3 separate regions of the Homo sapiens genome follow, and regions 1 and 2 are each linked to region 3. The links are contacts of gene promoters, found by promoter capture Hi-C in blood cells and fetal thymus (Javierre and others, 2016). All regions are on one chromosome and are shown on one strand. The core of a region is centred on a gene start or on the middle of the fragment in contact, and the rest is flanking DNA. Distances in the headings are between cores, read along the strand shown. Region 1 holds the start of CD209 (CD209 molecule). Region 2 overlaps LOC124904628 (a long non-coding RNA gene). Region 3 holds the start of ARHGEF18-AS1 (ARHGEF18 antisense RNA 1).

Evidence for each region. The method cuts DNA at HindIII sites, captures the fragments that hold promoters and counts their contacts. A CHiCAGO score of 5 or more calls a contact.
Region 1: a contact is called between the fragment with the promoter of CD209 here and the fragment with the promoter of ARHGEF18-AS1 in region 3, in 1 of 17 cell types (M1 macrophages). The highest score is 5.0, in M1 macrophages.
Region 2: a contact is called between a fragment that was not itself captured here and the fragment with the promoter of ARHGEF18-AS1 in region 3, in 2 of 17 cell types (megakaryocytes and M2 macrophages). The highest score is 6.8, in megakaryocytes.

Annotation. Positions count from the first base shown.
Region 1 is chr19:7,745,497-7,749,358 of GRCh38, forward strand. CD209 (CD209 molecule) reads right to left here and starts at 2,038. Exons shown (of 7, transcript NM_021155.4): 1 at 1,970-2,038; 2 at 1,810-1,869; 3 at 964-1,035; 4 at 22-591. The coding sequence starts at 2,015. RefSeq lists promoters at 1,916-3,343, 1,988-3,056, 2,015-2,252, 2,016-3,123, 2,016-2,522 and 7 more, cis regulatory regions at 2,070-2,075, 2,089-2,094, 2,112-2,117, 2,118-2,128, 2,123 and 8 more, an enhancer at 3,106-3,607 and a silencer at 3,387-3,681. The HindIII fragment of the contact is 13,171 bases long and covers 1-3,862 here.
Region 2 is chr19:7,803,967-7,807,842 of GRCh38, forward strand. The region is part of intron 1 of LOC124904628 (a long non-coding RNA gene); the gene reads left to right. Among named protein-coding and RNA genes, the nearest start is that of EVI5L, 24 kb to the right of the region's middle. The HindIII fragment of the contact is 161 bases long and covers 2,363-2,523 here.
Region 3 is chr19:7,392,813-7,396,940 of GRCh38, forward strand. ARHGEF18-AS1 (ARHGEF18 antisense RNA 1) reads right to left here and starts at 2,247. Exons shown (of 2, transcript NR_186326.1): 1 at 2,181-2,247. All of the region lies in intron 10 of ARHGEF18 (Rho/Rac guanine nucleotide exchange factor 18), which reads left to right. RefSeq lists silencers at 2,006-2,446, 2,155-2,724 and an enhancer at 2,935-3,114. The HindIII fragment of the contact is 12,223 bases long and covers 1-2,987 here.

The DNA.
Region 1 (3,862 bases), core at 788-3,287, 350 kb after region 3:
GCCCTGGTTCCAGATACTCACCCACTGCAGCCTTCAGCTGGGTCAGCTCCTGGTAGATCTCCTGCTGCTTAGATTTCTCTGGAAGCTCACCCACTGCAGCCTTCAGCCGGGTCAGCTCCTGGTAGATCTCCTGCTGCTTAGATTTCTCTGGAAGCTCACCCACTGCAGCCTTCAGCCGGGTCAGCTCCTGGTAGATCTCCTGCTGCTTAGATTTCTCTGGAAGCTCACCCACTGCAGCCTTCAGCCGAGTCAGCTCCTGGTAGATCTCCTGCATCTTAGATTTCTCTGGAAGCTCACCCACTGCAGCCTTCAGCCAGGTCAGCTCCTGGTAGATCTCCTGCAGCTTAGATTTCTCTGGAAGCTCACCCACTGCAGCCTTCAGCCGGGTCAGCTCCTGGTAGATCTCCTGCAGCTTAGATTTCTCTGGAAGCTCACCCACTGCAGCCTTCAGCTGGGTCAGCTCCTGGTAGATCTCCTGCAGCTTGGATTTCTCTGAGAGCTCACCCACTGCAGCTTTAAGCTGGGTCAGGTTCTGGTAGATCGCGTCTTGCCTGGATTGTTCCTGACTTATGGAGCTGGGGACCTTGGACACTGGGCCAAGAAAAAAAAGGAACTGCAATTATTAAACACCTACTGTGTGCCAAGCCTTGAACTGAGCCCCATAGGGACATCATTTGTGAGAGCCAAGGTCTTGGTTAATCCCCTTTGAAGATGAAGAAAACTGACACCTGGAGAAGGCAGCACAGAAGGCCAAGGAGAGCCAGATTCTTCCTGTCCTCCTCCTCCTCCCTCTCCTGTCCTGCCCTAGAGTGGGGAGGGGCTGTGGGAGAGGCCCCTACAGACCCCCAGGGACAACATCTTGGCTCTCAGTCCCACCTCCCTCCCAGATCTGGCAGCCCCAGGCTGTGTCCACAGCCAAAAGCCAGGCGTGGGGACCCCAGACCCTCAGAACCTGCCCCTGACCTTGGACAAGGAGCCCAGCCAAGAGCGTGAAGGAGAGGAGTTGCAGCACCAGGGGACCATGGCCAAGACACCCTGAGAGAGGATACATGCGTCAGCCTGCCAGTGTCCCCACCGGAGCCTGGCCCAGGGAGAGCCTGGTCTAAATCCCTCAGCACCCCAGGACCCAGGAACCCCAGCCCCAGCCCCCTCCACTCCAACACCTGGGAATCCAGGCCCTAGCTCTAACCTCCCCAGGACCCAGGGACCCCGTCCCCAGCCTCCCCTTCCCCAGGTCCCAGGAACCAGGTACCTGCTTCCACCTCCCCAGGACCCAGGAATCCAGGCCCCAGCCTCTACATTCCCAGGTCCCTGGAACCCAGGCCCCCAGCTCCCACCTCCCCAGGACCCAGGGACCCAGGACCCAGCCTCCCCTTCCCCAGGTCCCAGTAACCCAGGTACCTGCTCCCACCTCCCCAAGACCCAAGAATCTGGGTCCCAGCCCCTACATCCCCAGGTCCCAGGAACCCAGGCCCAAGTCCCCACCTCCCCATGACCCAGGAGTCCAGGCCCAGGCCCCCACCTCTCCAGGACCCAGGAGTCTAGGCCCCTGACCCCACCTCCCCAGGACCCAGGAACCCAGGCTTCAACTTCTACCTCCCCAGAACCCAGGAGTCTTGGCCCCAGCCTCCACCTTCCCAGGAACCAGGAATTCAGGCCCCAAACTCAACCTCCTCAGGTCCCAGGAGTCCAGGCCCCTAGCCCCACATCCCCAGGACCCAAGAGTCCAGGCCCCAGCGTCCAGCTCCTCAGGACCCAGGAGTCCAGGAGTCTCTCGTCTCTCCTCCCAAACTGCTAAGTCCTCTCTACCTGCTAAGCTCTTGTATCCTCGAGTCTGTCGGAATCCAAGGCCTCTCAGCTGTTCCTCCTCTGAATGGATAGACGTGAAATCAGAGCCTGGGCAGGCTGAGGCCATGGCTGGCCATCCCTTCCCCCTTCCCAGAATCCCAGCGTCCCAACCCAGCCTCACCCAGGAGGCCCAGCTGCTGCAGTCTTGGTTCCTTGGAGTCACTCATGTCACCCCACTCTCCCCCAGTGTCCAGAACTCCTGGGGGCCACAGCTTTTATTTCCCACCCTGTGATCTTTACTTCCTAAATCTAGTCTCCCACAGAAAGAGAAACAGGAAGTTGGGTAGGGATCTGTCATCCAAAAGACTAGTGGAAAGCATCAGAGCATGAGATGGGCCGGATCTTTCAAGAATTTCAGGGAGGCAGTGGGGGATGGTCTGGGGTTGACAGGGAGAAGGACTCATCCACTCATGGATGGCTGAGCAGTGGGATGCTTTTAATGAAATCTGATAAATTGTAAGAGAAAGCTACTGTGTTACACCCCCTCCACTAGGGCAAGGGTAGGCAGGTAGCACCCCCAGTTCCTGGAAGCACTGTCCCCTGTGACCTCCTGGCTTTCCTGCTTTGAGCTGCTGCTGTCCTCATTTTTGGGAATTCCTGCTGACTTTGGGAGTTGGGGCAGAATCATAATTGCTTGTTTATTTAATGCCTAGGGTAGTCAGGTACTTTTCCAACAGCTTTATAAACTCATTCATTTAATGTTCCTACCCTTCAGTAGATCATATGACCTCCATTATACAGATGAGGAAACTGAGGAGGCACTGCAAGTTTAGCTAACTGGCCCAAGGTCACACAGCTGGTAGATGGTGGGGCTGAGACTTGAACCCAGTCTGCCTCCACAGTGCATGCTGTTAACCAAAGAGTGAAATAGTATCAAAGAGGAAAGAAAAGATCCATAGCAGCTTTATTTAGAATGATCTGAAATTGGAACAACCCCGTGTCCACCAGCAGGTGAATGATAAAAAATATAATGGCATATTCAAAGATTGGAATACTATACAGCAATGAAAAAGCAAAGTACTAGTACATTTAATAACATAGATAAATCTCACAAAACAGTAAAAGGACCCAGACAGAGTGAGTACACACTGTAAGATTTGATTTTGTGTGAATTTTGAGAACAGGCAGAACTAACCTTTGAAGGAGACTCAGAATGGGAATTATCAGGAAGGAGCAGGTGGAGATTGACAACGGGGTTTCTGTATGCTGGAAATGTTCTATATTTTGATCATAGAGATGTGCATTTACCACATGTGTGTTAAATCTCAGTTTAAAGATGGAAAATACATACATGTATCATAATCAAATAGTGGTTTTCGACCTGATCTTTACTTTGTATTCTTTTTTAAAATGTTTTAATTTTAGAATAATTTTGGGTTTATAGCAAAGTTGCAAATGTAGGAAAGAGATTTCCCATATGTAAATCCCTCACCTAGGGATCCCTAATGTGAACCCAGTTTCTCCTAATGGTAACATTTCACATGGTAATGAGGTAGGAAACTGGAAGAACTTGTTTTCTGGCCACAACCCTGCAGACCCATACAGAATCTGGTCCAGATGAGATGATGTGAAGAAACCAGCAGGAACCAGCAGATGGCAACAAAAGCAATCCCTGGCTGCCTCATTGCTCGTGGGCATAAGATACTCCCTCCAGTGCCATGACTGTTTACCGATGCCATGGCAATGACCTAGAAGTTCCCACCTGTTTCCATGGAAACAACCTGGACATCTTCGCCCTTTTCCTTAAAACTTCTAAAGAACCTGCTCCTCAATTTGCATTGACCCACCCCTTAACTGACGTATAACTGAAAGTGAGTTGACATGAGTATAACTACAGCTGCCAAGAGCTTGTATGTTGTTGACTCTGGGTGCACTGCCTATGAGTTAGCCCTGCTTCACAAGGAGCAGTATCATTACATAAAAAATATCTGTCTAAGGCCAGGTATGGTGGCTCACGCCTGTAATCCTAACACTTTGGGAGGCTGAGGTGGGCGGATCACAGGGTCAGGAGTTC
Region 2 (3,876 bases), core at 1,193-3,692, 410 kb after region 3:
GGAGTCTCTTCCTGGGGGTGGAGCTGAGTAAGTACCGGCTGTGGCTGGGGCAGAAGGAAGAGGCCCCCAGGTTAAGCTGGAACTTCCCCAGGATCCTGTCCATGGCTCACGCATGCCCTCGAGCCCCTGGTACTCCAGGCTTAGATGCTGGGGCAGCAGGGCTGGAGGGAACCTCAGGGCAGGAGCCCAGAGAGCCAAATAACTGGATTCAAAGGGTCCATCCTCCCTTCACCATTGGCCTCAGGCATACCTGATCAATGCACAGGTCCCAGCTTGCAGTCTCCTGGCTCTAACTGGCTGGTGTTAGAGCAGATCCATAAAGACCCCAAATAAGAGAGTCAGGACCAAATTGTCCTCCCTGGCCCTTGGCCCCAGCCCACCCCCCTGCCCCACTCCCCAACACACAAGAGTCAACCTTCCAGGGAAGAAAGGAATCCCTGGAGCCTATCCCTCATCCTAGAACAGATATTCAGTCAGCTTTTATGGTCCTGGAATATTGGTCTTGCTAGAAAGACTATTCTAAATGCCAACAGCTGGCCGAGTGTGATGGCTCATGCCTGTAATCCCAACACTTTGGAAAGCTAAAGTCAGTGGATCACTTGAGCCCAGGGGCTCAAGCTCAGCCTGGGCAACATAGTGAGACCCTGTCACTATAAAAATAGTTTTTTTTGAGGTGGAGTCTCGCTCTGTCGCCCAGGCTGGAGTGCAATGGCGTGATCTCGGCTTACTGCAACCTCTGCCTCCTGGGTTCAAGCGATTCTCCTGCCTCAGCCTCTTGAGTAGCTGGGATTACAGGCACACCCCACCACACCTGGCTAATTTTTGTATTTTTAGTAGAGACAGGGTTTCACCATGTTGGTCAGGCTGGTTTCGAACTCCTGACCTCAGGTGATCCACCTGTCTCAGCCTCCCAAAGTGCTGGGATTACAGGCATGAGCCACTGTGCCAGGCCTGTTAAATGACTTTTCTAAACTACTTCTGTAAAGTCTATATTCTCTGTCATGGCTACTGAAGTCTTTGCTCAGTTAGCTTCATGGTTAGCTAGTGGTTGGACAGAGATTTCCTTGAATGTCTGGAATCGGAAGTCTGCCAGTCTTTGCCAGGGAGCTCTGTGTACTTATTAGGGACACACCTTCAACATTCACCCAGGAAATTTACAACTGTGCTTTAGCTCTCACTTCCTGCTTACACAGAGCCTCGAAGTCGGCCAGCGGTGTGAGCTTAGGGCTGTCTCAGGTCTTTCCTAAGCATGTGGCCTTCCATATCCCCAGAAATATGTCAGAATTTTTCAAAAGTCCCTCCGAACATCTAATGTCTTCATTTTTCCTTCTAAGATTTTTTTTTTTTTTTTTTTTGAGACGGAGTCTCGCTCTGTGGCTCAGGCTGGAGTGCAGTGGCGCGATCTCGGCTCACTGCCAGCTCCGCCTCCTGGGTTCACACCATTCTCCTGGCTTGGACTACAGGCGCCCGCCACCACACCCGGCTAATTTTTTGTATTTTCAGTAGAGACGGGGTTTCACCGTGTTAGCCAGGATGGTCTCGATCTCCTGACCTCAAGTGATCCTCCCGCCTCGACCTCCCAAAGTGCTGGGATTACAGGCGTGAACCACCGCGCCTGGCGCTTTTCCTTCTAAGATTTTTAGTTAGGCTATTATTTCCCCAACTGTTAAGTATTGCCACAGGCAGCTGCAATGTTAAAACATTTAACAAATAGCCCCTGGGGAGAAATGTTTAGCATCCGGCAAGTTCAAGTGAGGTCAGGTCTTTCAGAGCAGGGTCTTCCAGAGTACCAATAAATAGGTCAATAAATGACTCTTCTTGGCTGGGTGCGGCGGCTCACGCTTGTAATCCCGGCACTTTGGGAGGCCGAGGTGGGTGGATCACTTGAGGTAAGCAGTTTGAGACTAGCCTGGTCAACATGGTGAAACCCTGTCCCTGCTGAAAACACAAAAATGAGTCAGGCATGGTGGCGGGCACCTGTAATCGCAGCTACTCCGGAGGCTGAGGCAGGAGAATCGCTTGAACCCAGGAGAAGGAGGTTGCAGTGAGCCGAGATCACGCCACTGCACTCCAGCCTGGGCGACAGAGCGAGACTCTGTCTCAAACACACACACACACACACACACACACACACACACACACACACACACACACCTCTTCTTGAATGATCCTGAATGAGGTTTTGAAGGAGCCGCACCTCTGTTCTTTTCCGTATGGTATCAAGATTGTGGGCTGTTATTTTTCAAGGCTACCCTCTGAGCTGGAGAGCCAGGAATAAGACTAGAGTGAGTTAAAATTCTACAGAGCTTGCTGTTTTTTTATGTGTTTTTTTTTTTAATTAAATGCTCTGCAAATTACTGTAAGCTTTTGGTTAATTTCCAGAGTTGTGAAAATGTTGATTCTGTCAAATTTTGCCAGTTTTTTTCATTGCTTTTGTAGAAAGGCAAATTTTACTCTGCCATTTTGCTGACGTTCTTTTTTTTCCCCTTCGATGCTTAAATTATCTTTAATTTGGCCAGTGAAAGCTTTTCTCTCTGGCTTCTGGGTCCTTTTGACATATTCCTATTGGTTTTTTGCTGATCGTTTTTTCTTCCTTCCTGGCCTAACTAGATGTTCTAGGCTTTTGTCCCCCCCAACCCTGCCTCAGCCTCCCAAGTAACTAGGACTACAGGAGCACGCCACCACGCCTGGCTAATTTTTAAATTTTTTGTAGAAATGGGTCTTGCTATGTTGCCCAGGCTGCTCTCATTTTTCCAAAAAGCCCTGGGCTAGGTGGAGATTGGCAGTTAGAAATGATCTGGGTGTTAAGTGTGCCCATTGTTACTGGGGTATGTGGCTCCCAGGTCCTCTTAGTAGATAAATGGGAACACACACACACACACACACACACACACACACACACAAACTTATTTCTATATTTATCTTTATATTTTGAAAACCATGAATTCACCTCAGTACCTCCAATTCAATAGGGTTTATTCTTGTTTTTTTTTGTATCTTTTCTTTTTTTTTTTTCTTGAGACCGAGTCTCGCTTTGTCACCTGGGCTGGAGTGCAGTGGCGCAATCTTTGGCAGTCTCAGCTCACTGCAGCCTCAACCTGCTGGGCTTGAGGGATTCTCCTGCCTCAGGCTCCTGAGCAGCTGGGACCACAGGCTCACGGCACCACACCCAGCTAATTTTTTGTCTGTAAAGACAGGGTCTCACTATGTTTCCTGGGCTGGTCTGGAACTCCTGGACTCAAGCGATCCTCCCACCTTGGCCTCCCAACGTGCTGGGATTACAGTGGCCGGGTGCAGCGGCTCACGCCTGTAATCCCAGCACATTGGGAGGCCGAGGCAGGTGGATCACCCGAGGTCAGGAGTTCGAGACCAGCCTGGCCAACATGGCAAAATCCCATCTCTACTAAAAATACAAAAATTAGCCGGGCTTGGTGGCGGGAGCCCGTAATCCCAGCTACTTGGGAGCCTGAGGCAGCAGAATCGCTTGAACCTGGGAGGTGGAGTTTGCAGTGAGCCGAGATCTTGCCACTGCACCCAGCCTGGGTGACAGAGCAAGACTCTGTCTCAAAACAAAACAAACAGAAAAACAAAGTGCTGGGATCACAGGCATAAGCCACCACACCTGGCCTCTGCATCTCATGAGCATTTATTTTGTGCTATGTGTTTTTTGGATATGACCTCAAAGAATCCGGTAACACAGCCGCCCTCATTCTCATTTTACCTATGAGCATAGTGGCTCAGAGATGAGTCACCTGCCCACAGCCCATCAGCTGATAAACACTGGAGTTGGGTTTGAAACTGTGAAAGCAATGAGGACCACATCATTTTCACTTCCCTTCGTGGCCCCAACTCAAACCAACCCAAAACCCAAGAAAG
Region 3 (4,128 bases), core at 997-3,496:
GGAGGCCCAGGCGGGCAGATCACTTGAGCTCAGGAGTTCGAGACCAATCTAGGCAACATGGCGAAACTCTGTCTCTACAAAAAAATTAGCCAGACGTGGTGGTGTGTGCCTGTGGTCCCAGCTACTTGGGAGGCTGAGGTGGGAGGACAACTTGAGCCCAGGAGATGGAAGCTGCAATGAGCTATGATTGTGCCACTGCACTTCCAGCCTAAGTGACAGAGTGAGATCCTGTCTCAAAAAAAAAAAAAAAAAAAAAAAAAGGAAAAAAAATAAGGTTCATGCCCCTAAGTCCATAAGCCACAGCTACACAGCTGCCCAACCATTGAGCCCTCATAAACTCCCGTGTTAGAGTTTCTGACCTCAGCTGCAGTAGGGTGCCTGGTGAATTACGTCTTGCATTTCTGGGACATCCAATTCCCTGAACATGCTCCCTTCCTCTGGACCATGAAGGTTGGACTTGAACTGAAGGCTAGTCCACCTGGGGACGCAACCCTCCAGCTTCTGAACTGGGGACTCTCAACAACATATTGTGCATGTTTTGAAGTGATTGGGTTTGGGGAAATCTTTTTTTCTAAAATAGAGACTGGGTCATGCGAGGTTTCCCAGGCTGATCTCAAAGCTCCTGGACTCAAGTGATCCTCCCTCCTCAGACTCCCAAAGTGTTAGGATTACAGGCATGAGCCGTCTTGCCTGGCCATGGGGAGATCTTCTAGGCCTGGCTGACCAGCCAACCTTGGTGAGAGCTGTTCTGCTCGACTCCTGGTTACTGTTCAACTGCCTCCCCTGTGGCAGGACTTGGATTAGACAGGCAACCTCAAGACTGGGGTGTCTGATGGCAATTGAGAGGTTGCTGGTGCTGGGGGAAGCATCTGGCCTATCCACATCTGCCAAATAGCACCTGTGTGGAAGTGGATAGGGGAGGGTATGGTATGTGTTTCAGACTCTGAGCACCTGTTTGAGGGTATCTGACAGCATCTGTATTGGGGTTATCTAGTATGTGTTTGGGGGTATCTGCTGGACCTATGTGGAGTGTCTGACATATTTGGGGGTTACCTGGAAGCCTGTTTTGGGTATCTGATGGCACCTGCCTGGGTGCCTGTGTTTAGGGGATCTGATGGTATCTATGTTGGGGTGTCTGAGACCACTGGAGAGGTATATGATTCATTTTTCCCAGACCCACCTTTCTGAAGTCTATGCTGCCTCTTTTTTTGTTGTTGTTATTTTGAGACAGAGTCTTGCTCTGTTGTCCAGGCTGGAGTGCAGTGGCATGATTATAGCTCACTGCAGCCTGGACCTCCCAGGCTCAAGTCATCCTCCCACCTCAGCCTCTGGAGGCATGATCATAGCTCACCGCAGCCTGGACCTCCCAGGCTCAAGTCATCCTCCCACCTCAGCCTCTGGAGGAGTTGGGACCACAGGCAGGCGCCTCCATGCCCTGCTCATTTTAAAAAATGTTTTGTAGAGATGGGGTCTTGCTATGTTGCCCAGACTGGTGGTCCTGAACTCCTGGGATGAAGTGATCCCCCCACCACTCCCTGATGCTGCTTCTTTTTTCTCAGGTGACAGACCCTGCCCTCTCCATTTCTTGGACTCTCCCCGCTAGGACTCCCCACCACTGGGAGTGCCCCCCTTAGGTACTTCCAATCCTAACGAGCCCGTAGGAGCCCACTGACAACCCCTCCAGGCATCCGTTGATTCTTCCAAAACACCCCCAGCTCCACTGTCCTCCCTTGGGGTCCCCTTAACCCCGCTATCCTCCCTCGGGGTCCCCCAACTCCGCTGTCCTCCCTCGGGGTCCCCCCAACCCCGCTGTCCTCCCTTGGGGTCCCCCAACCCCGCTGTCCTCCCTCAGGGTCCCCCTAACTGTGCTGTACCCCCCTTGAGATTCTCCAAACCGCTGTCCTCCTCAGGACTCCCTCCCCAGCCGCGCTAATCACCCAGGCTTCCGTTAACCCCACAAAACGCCCACCTAACCCTGCTGCTCTCCCTCTGGATCCCCGCAACCCAGCTGTCCCCTCAGAGCCCCCGGCCCTACTGACAGCCAGGCTCGCATTGCTCTCCTTCAAAAAGCCCCCCAACCCCGCTGACCCGCCCCTCAAAAGTCGCCCTCACCCTCGCCGCGAGCACCCTCCCACTTCGGTGCCCGCGCCCCTCTCAAGGCCGAGCCGACGCCCCCTCACCACGGCTCGGGGAGCAGCAGCCCCAGGTCCCCGGGAGCGCCCCGCCCTCGAGGGCACGCCTCCTTCCGGGTCACGCCCTCTGCCCCGCCTCCGAGGCGGGATCGCGCATGCGCTGCTCTCCTCGCGCGGCTTCCCGCTTCCGGCTCCCAGCTGCTAGCTACTGTGGATCTGGGGGGGCCGGACGGAGGCATCGGAGGCGGCTGCGAGAGTGGCAGAGGAGCTGGCGGAGAGCGGCCTGCGGGCGATCGGGCCGAGGTGAGGACGGCGGCGGGGCGGTCCCGAGGAAAACGGGGCTCAGGAGGGGGCCCTCGGTCTCTTCAGGGGGTGGCCTGGGGCGCGGGACCCCCGGGGCTGCCTCGGGCCTCCCGCCGGCTCCTGGGGGACTTCTCCAGGCAGGCGAACGGGTGCTGGGGTGCAGGCTGCTCCTTCAATGCATGGAGGCTCTAGGCGGCGATTGCAGGGTGCAGAGGTGCAGACGATGCCCGCCCGCTCCGTCCGAGCCCCAGCCAGTCCTGGGGTGCTACGGCTTACTCTCCTCCAGGAGAGGAGAGGAGGGGTCACTTGGGCCCCAGCCTCTGCTCCTCGTTCAGGAGCGCCCGGGGCAGGACCAGGGATGGAATGGAACCCACCACAATACCCAGCACCGTCGTATTTCAGGCCTCCCGGGAGAACCCTCACACCCCGGAGCAGACAGCCCTCCCTGGCAGGGAGCGTTTGGGTGCAAAACCGTGAGAACTATCTGTGCCATGGGTTTTAGTTTCTTGTATAAGAACTCAGTTGGTGCTTTCATTGCGGACGGGAACGAGAAGCTTTCCCCTGGTCCTTACATGTTTCGTTTTGTTTTACGTTTTTAAATTTCAACTTTTATTTGAGATTGAGGGGGTACATGTACAGGTTTGTTACCTGGATATATTGCGTGATGCTGAGGTTTGGGGTGTGACTGATCTCGTCACCCAGGTACTGAGCATAGTACTCAATAGATAGTTTCAACCCTTGACCTCCTCCTTCCCTTCCCGCTCTAGTAGAGCCCAGTTTCTGTTGTCTTCTTGGTGTCCATGAGTACCCAAGGTTTAGCTCCACTTACAAGTGGGAAAGTGCAGTATTTGGTTTTCTTTTCCTGCGTTAATTCTACTAGCACTTGAGTGTTTTGCTGTGGCTATCTGCCCCTTATCTCTTGCTCTGTTGAGATTAAAGCCTGGACCACAGGATTAAAAAACATTCTTAAAGTTTTACCACGGAAGCGAAGCGGCCAACACACCTTTTCCCCTTTGCCTTGTTTTCGCGGAGATGAAGCTCCAGCCAGTAGCTTTGAAGGGCCCCATTCTCTTCCCATTGACCAGAGAGAGAGTTCAGGACAGTATAGACAGCCCAGTGGCCAAGGGATGAGTTTTGCAGGTGTCTGAGTGAATGATTAATCCTCCAGCTGTAAGAGGTGTCAGGAGAGGCTGGGCGCGGTGGCTCAAGCCTGTAATCCCAGCACTTTGGGAGGCCAAGGTGGGTGGATCACGAGGTCAGGAGATCGAGACCATCCTGGCCAACATGGTGAAACCCCATCTCTACTAAAATACAAAAATTAGCCGGGCATGGTAGCGGGCGCCTGTAGTTCCAGCTACTCTGGAGGCTGAGGCAGGGGAATCACTTGAACTCGGGAGGCAGAAGTTGCAGTGAGCCGCGATCGGGCCACTGCACTCCAGCCTGGCGACAGAGCAAGACTGTCTAAAAAAAAAAAAAAAGAAGTGTCAGGAGCACAGGCTTGAGGTCAGATCCGAGCTGGGTTCTGGTCCCAGTTCCACCACCTGTTAGCCGTGTAACTTCACTAAGTTTCCGTCTTCCCATCTTTAAAATGGGAATAAGGGTTGGTTGGGGTTTCTATGAAGTAATCTGTGTAAGGTGCATCACAGAAGTGTCTGGCATATGGCAAACTTTCCATCAGTGTTATACACCCTTT